2 separate regions of the Homo sapiens genome follow, and region 2 is linked to region 1. Evidence: promoter capture Hi-C in human tissues and cell types (Jung and others, 2019). All regions are on one chromosome and are shown on one strand. Each heading gives the region's core, a stretch centred on a gene start or on the middle of the fragment in contact. The rest is flanking DNA. Distances are from core to core; before and after follow the strand shown. Region 1 holds the start of SHANK2 (SH3 and multiple ankyrin repeat domains 2). Region 2 overlaps SHANK2 (SH3 and multiple ankyrin repeat domains 2).

The links. The method cuts DNA at HindIII sites, captures the fragments that hold promoters and counts their contacts. A contact is called where the count stands out against the background at its distance.
Region 2: a fragment that was not itself captured here is called in contact with the fragment with the promoter of SHANK2 in region 1 in 2 of the 25 tissues and cell types used here (liver and stomach).

The regions. Positions count from the first base shown.
Region 1 is chr11:71,251,028-71,254,330 of GRCh38, forward strand. SHANK2 (SH3 and multiple ankyrin repeat domains 2) reads right to left here and starts at 1,550. Exons shown (of 26, transcript NM_012309.5): 1 at 1,398-1,550. The HindIII fragment of the contact is 4,011 bases long and covers 505-3,303 here.
Region 2 is chr11:71,200,220-71,203,522 of GRCh38, forward strand. The region is part of intron 2 of SHANK2 (SH3 and multiple ankyrin repeat domains 2); the gene reads right to left. Among named protein-coding and RNA genes, the nearest start is that of SHANK2, 51 kb to the right of the region's middle. The HindIII fragment of the contact is 5,516 bases long and covers 1-3,303 here.

The sequences.
Region 1 (3,303 bases), core at 300-2,799:
CTCTGAGGACGCCCAGGCCCCTGCCAGCAGCTGCCAGCCCCCGAGAGCCTTACGTACTTTCGCCTGACCCCCCCACCACCCACCCCTCACCTGCCTGGCTCGAGCGCCTTCTCAGTTCCAGGCGCCCCGAGCCCCTTTAAAAGATCGGCTGCGAAAACCCACGGTCACCTGCACCACCCTTTCTCCCTCTGGGTGCTCCAGCCCCACGGAAAGGCAAGCCTCGCCCACGCGCCCACCCACCTCGAGCAGGGTGTCCGCACGCAGACCCGCCTGGAGGGCGCCGCGCTGCACCCCCACGCCAAGCCCCAGAACCCTGGCGGCGAGGTCCACCCCAGCCCCCGCATCCCCCCGAACCCGGGCGGCGAGGCCCGCTGCGGTGGTCGCACCTGCTGGCTCAGTCCGGCGGCTCCAGCCCAAGTGACGAGTGCGCTGTCGGCGTCTCTGGGAGCGGTCCCCGCGCCTGGCGCCCGGGGCCGGGGCCACCCGGTGGAGGCGCCTGGGCCGCGGGCTGGGCGGGCGGAGCTGCCCGGCCGCCGGGGAGGAGGGATGCCCGGGCGAAAGTTGCCAGGGAAACTTGATCAACTCGAGCGCGCCGGTGCCAGCTTCCTGCATAATTCACGGACGGTGGCGGCCGGGCTGCGCCCGCCGGGTCTCCCTATCCCAGCTGGTGAGCACGGCGGGCCGGGGTCGGGCACCCGGCTGTGGCTCAGCGCGACCCCCGGGACCTGGGCGCCCGACCCGCCACCCCCGGGCCCGCACCAGGCGCGCCGGCCCCGGCCTCTCCGCGACAGCTGCTGCTGCCGCCGCGCGCGCCTGGATGGGAGCTCTGCGTGCAGGGCCAGGGTGACCGCAGCGGGGTCTCGGGGGACCTGGCGGCCACGGTTCGGGTCTCCGCCCCCGCGCGCCACCTGGCGGCCCCGCGCCGGCTCCTCCGCTGGGCTCGCTGGCCCGGGTCCTAGGGCTGGCGGGCGGTGACCCGGGGCAAGGAGACCCCGGGAGAGCGGGGGAGGTCGCGCCACACGCGCTGTTCCAGAGGAAGGGGCAGGACGCGCCAGAGACTACGTGGTCCATGCGCGCAGGAGATAAAGCGGGGGCTCCTTCCTGCGCTCTGCCCCCACGCCGCTTCCAAAGCTTTCGACACCGGCCCCTGCCCGGGAAGAAAGGCATGCAGGGGGAAGGGCTCTCTACGGAAAATCGACCCCCACCTGGACACGCGGCTCACTCCCCCCAGCGCCCACCTCTCCAGCCTCTCTGGGTCCAGGACTGCGCTTACCCGGTAGTTGGTGCTCCCGGAATCGAGATGCCCCCAAAATGCCGTCAGTGAGCAGGATCGGGTGCCCAAGGGCCACCTCCCGTCCTCCCCGGCCCGCGCCCTGCGTCCCCGGCCGCCGCCTCACCTGGCTCGGCGAGTCGGGGGCGGGTCCGAGCCCCCCGGGAGCGCCAGCGTCCGCGCACACCTGGATCGGCCGCGGGAACCCGAGCGGCGCCGCGCCCAGCCCCGCCGGAGCTCAGGAGCCGCCGCCGCGGCTCAGGTGCAGGGGGTGGGGAAGGACCCGGCCCCGCCCGGCGCGGGAGCTGGCTCCGGCGAGGGTGGGGGAGGGGCCCTCTCGCCGCCGAAAGGACGCGTGCGGCCCAGGACCCGCGGGCGACCCGACCTGGACCCCCACCCCCGCCCACGCCGCGGACCTCAGTCCCCCGCCCCGACCCCGCTCCCGCCCGCGGCTGCGGCTCGGGCGTGCGCGTGGGGTCTGTTGTGGCAACCCCGGGAGACCGCGGGGCGCCCTGGCCGCCTCTGCCCCGCCCCGGGCTGCGTGGCTCACGGACCTCCCCCTCCCTGGCCAAAGCCGGCGGACGAGAAAGTCCCTGATTTTTGTAAAGTCCGGTTCGGTCTGCACGGTTATCCCGAACGCAGCTGGCTCCCGCCACAGAGTATTTATAATAATAGGATTTGGAAATAGAGGCTGCCTGCACATCAAAACGTTTGCAGAGCAAACGAAAACTTTGTACCCGGGTGATACGCCGGCGTCTGCTGCCCAGGCCACCAGTTCTGGGGCGCCTTCCGCCCAGGGGTGCACAACGGTATCTCCGCCAGCTGCCCTCCAAGCCAAGAAAAGCCAGGGGGTGGGGTGGGGGGAGCAAAAGCCAACGGCTCGGGTGAATCCCAGAGGCCAAAGGCACCCTCCGGAGACTCCAGGAATCCTGTTATTATCCAGGACTCCGGATTGCTAGGTTTGCGGAAGCCCAAAGGGGCGGGTCCTGAGCTTGGAGCTGTGGCCGCCGTGTGAGCCATCGGCTGATAGATTTTCTCAAGGCCTTAATCATTCACTGGGAGTCTCCCCCAGTACGAGCTGCGTGTTTCTGAGTAAGCTCTTGAGGTCTCTGTGTTCTGAGTTTTCCAGTATTCTGGAAGGTGTGGGTGGGGATCAGAGTCCAAGCTGTGGAGTAGAACTGTCTCCAGAACCCTGGAGCCCGGCATTATGCAAACCCCTAACTGTGCCCCCTACATAGAGTGAGTGTGTGTGTGTGTGTGTGTGTAAGTCAGTCTATCTTACAGGACATGCCTGAGAGGTTTGCATGGGCTGGTGACTTCAACATACCAAAGGCAAAGTTAAATATTTGCTCTAGATACTTTTTTTTTTCAGCTTGCATAATTGTCCCACATTTCAAAGAAGTCTTTAAAAGCACTTAGGTTAAAAAAAAAAAAGTTGTGTTTGGGGCCTGAATATTTCAGGACACACATGGAATAAATATTGTAACTCCTTGAGGGCAGCTGCCTTATGTAAATGTCTTTCTCGTCGCTGCTTCCTTAAGCATACACTTGATAAAATATTTGTTGAATGAATAAAGGAGTCAATCAATCAAAAAATAATAATCCCCAAAACAGGAAGAAGGACGCCCTGACAGGATCCTGCAGGCATCCTTTGTTTGGCATGGAAGCTGGGGTGCCTGGGAGAGGTGTGAGCAGGACAATCGGATGTTCTTTGGGTTGGCCGGTGGCAGATGCAAGACCTGGGTTGCAGGGAGTGGGGGTGGGGGCTCTACCTTTCCATAACAGTCCATCAGTACCCTCCCCACCAAAGAAGGCAAGTCATCTGAATAAAGTGGTGTATTTACCCTGCAAACCCAGCTCAAAGACCTATCCTCAGGATATTTCCCTCCTCTCACCAGATTCCCACCCCTGGAACACCCCTTCCTAGGTTTCTAGAACCACTGCTGCAGATAGACCAGGCAGCTGGTCACAGTTCAATTGTGAACATTTTTCGGCTATCTCCATGCAAGGTTTAAGACCGATGCCATTATGCT
Region 2 (3,303 bases), core at 258-2,757, 51 kb before region 1:
GTGGCCTCTGTGTCTGGCTCCTTTCACCACACGTAATGTCCTCAAGGTGTATCTATGCAGTAGTCCTCATCCGTAATCCATTCCTTTTCAGGCCAAGTCACATCCCATCACATGGGTACACCACACTGTTTATTTATTACTCAGCTGACAGACATCTGACTGATTCCAGTTTTGGGCTATTATAAATAACGCTGCCATGAGCATGTATGTAAACATTTTCACTCGTACCTATGATTCCATTTCTCTTGGGGACACACCCAGGAGTGGAACTGCTGGCTCATGTGCTAACTCCACGTTTAACTTCACTCTACATTTGACTTCACTCTACATTTGACTTCACTCTACATTTGACTTCACTCTACATTTAACATAACTCTACATTTAACTTCACTCTACATTTAACTTTTTTTAGGACTTGCCAGGCCGTCTTCCTCAGCGGCAGCCACATGTTAACCAATACCATGGGTATGGCTCAGACAGTAATTCTCTTCCCACTGCTGTCATTTTGTCTTCAAGCCTTTATCTGCATGCTCAGTCAGGAGCTTCACACCATGGTCAGATGTGTTTGTCCTCAGTCACCAGACCACAGAGAGGTATCAAGTCTCAATTAATACACACACACACACACACACACACACACACACACTTCAGATCTTTATTTTAGTGACTGTCATATGGGGAAAACCCTATGTGTAAATAAAGGTATGTGCTCAAAGCTTTGTTCAGTGGTGCATTCAACCAATATTGGGCACCTGCAATGTGGCAGGGCCTGCCACGGGCCCCGAGGATGCATCAGTAAACAACATAAAGCCCCCACACCGACCTCCCCCGAGCCATCAAAGAGACAGACACGACAGTGATGGTTTAAGACAATTAGCAGTGCCCAAAAATTCCTCCCAAGATGGAAAATTAATCTTCCAATTAGGCCATGAGGAGCTCCTGCAGATGACATGCATTCATTTCCCTCAACTGTTCCTTCTCCACAGCAACCACGTGCCCTCCCCCATATTCCAACTTGACAAAGCGGTGGAAATCTGAGGCACTGCAAAGAGAGAGGTCTCGGCCACGAGAAGCACCTCTTGTCTCATGGATATATGGGATCCGTTGTGATCCCGAGGACAAGCACGTCTTTCCACGCCTCAGGAGAGCTGTGCTGCCCACCGCTGCCCGCCCGGAGATTGCGCCGAGCTGGCGTGTGCCACAAAGGGTGATCACCACGCTGTGTCCACTGCACTCCAATGCCATGATGGTCGGAGCTGCTGCTGCTGCTACTCACTTGGCCACAGACGGCGGTCACTGATGGCGGTCACCTGCACAGCAGGGGCTCGTGAGTGAGGGTCCCTATGAGCCGGTTCTCTTTCAAGCCCAGACACCAGTGACCTCAGCTTTAAGATAAATCCAGTGACTATTCCCATTTTACAGATAAGAAAAGCAAGGCTGAGAAGTATAGGTCACAGGTTCACGGCCACAGAGTGGGTACAAAGCAGAGACTTGTCCACGCCCAGCACACAGACTCCGAGGGTAGTGGGGCTGGCTTTGAAGTCCAGAAGGAGCACGTTGTCTCCCACCAGGAGACGGGGGATGAATCTGTGGGAAGGAGGCAGGGATGAGGCACCTACTCCAGTTCCTCCAGTCGCCCTGACCCGAGGAACAAACCTGCCTCCCGGAACCTGCCCAGTGGCTTCTGTCATTGCCAAATTTCAAAGGCACAGCCATGAGCCCTCCAAATGGATTAGGGTCCCCTGTTCTACAGGATACCGACCAATTATTGTTATTTGGACAAGTCCTGGTTTATCTGATTCTCTGATTCTTCACAGCTGTGTGGAGGAGGGGTGTGCCCACATGGCTCACGGGTACACAGTAGGTGCTTAATCACTGTGTGCCAAGTGAATGAATGGCTGCTTGATGATGAGGGTGCAAGGTGCACAAACAACTCCCTGCCTTTAAGGCATCTGCATGGGCCTGGTGGACACACCCTTCTGCCGGGTGGCAGCCCAGATCAGGAACTCACCTCAGAGGCCACTGGTTCCCCAGCCCCATCCCCTCCTCATTCCTCCCCTCAGGGCCTAGACAGGTCATGGAACCACATCTCAGAATGTGCACAGCAGCACAGAGGGCACACAACCAGCCACTCTCTGCAGCTCAGGTCCTTGTACCTTAAGAACAGCCTACCTGGCGGGTGGGCAGGTGACTGAACCCATTTCAGAGATCCATAGACTGAGGTCAGAGAGGTGAGGGTACTCCCAGCCCCTCGGCGAGACAAGGCAGAGCTAGGACCCAGGTCTTCCAACTCCACACTCAACATCATACCCACATCTCAGGCTACCCCTCCTCAGGAGCTGGCTTCCAGGTGGCTCTGCCCAGGTGTCAAAAGGGGTCGATGTTGGCCAGAATGACCCACCGGGAAAGCAGCCAGCACACAGAGTCACTAAAGGTGACCTTTGGGAAGTCTCTGAGTCATAGGCCAGTCAGAGCACACCATGGACAATCCTCTTGTCCATGTGGGATTCCTGACCAGGTCCCACCCAAAGGGCACAGCAAGGCTGTCTCCATCCACCTGGCCGGCTCCACTGCCTGCTGTGCCAAAGTCACCTGCCCTGGTTAAGTCAATGAGCATGCAAGGGGCAACAATGAGCACGGCACTGACCCAGGGTCAAAGCCATGGGAAACTGCCTTGGAAAAAACGGAGCCAGATGCCACCAGGATAGTTGGCACTGGGGCTGGGTGACTTTGACCCTTTTTCTCTGTTTTCCAAATTTTCTGTGGAGCAGCAAAATAAGAAGTAAATTGAGATATGGAAAACACTGTGTGTCCGCAGGACTGTACACACAGGCATGCTCATGGAGCAGGTGGCCCTGTGGGGTTCCAGTGATCTCAGGTACCACCTGCAAGGGTGGGTCAGCTTTTGGAATCAAGGGTCACACCAGCGTAATGACCATCTGTGAGGGGGAGGCGCAGGGTCTAGGGAGATGTGCCCCAATTGTCTGCTGGAGATGGTGAGGAGGCAGCGAACCTTTGCCAAGACCTTAGTGGTCAGCATTTGCCAACAAGTCAATCTCCCACATGCCTAAGAGATAGGTGCTATGATAACCCCTATTTCAACAAGAAAACAATGAGATATAAGAAGTATCTAAATCAGAGAGCTAATAAATGGTCAAACCAAGATTTGATCCTGTGCAGCTTGGACCAGATGCCAGACATTTTAATACTGTAGTGCAATAAAGGGTTAACTCAGCAGGCCTGGGTTGTCCAAACCCCACACACTCCAAAGAAAGACTGGGTCCCCAGGACAATTGCTTGAAC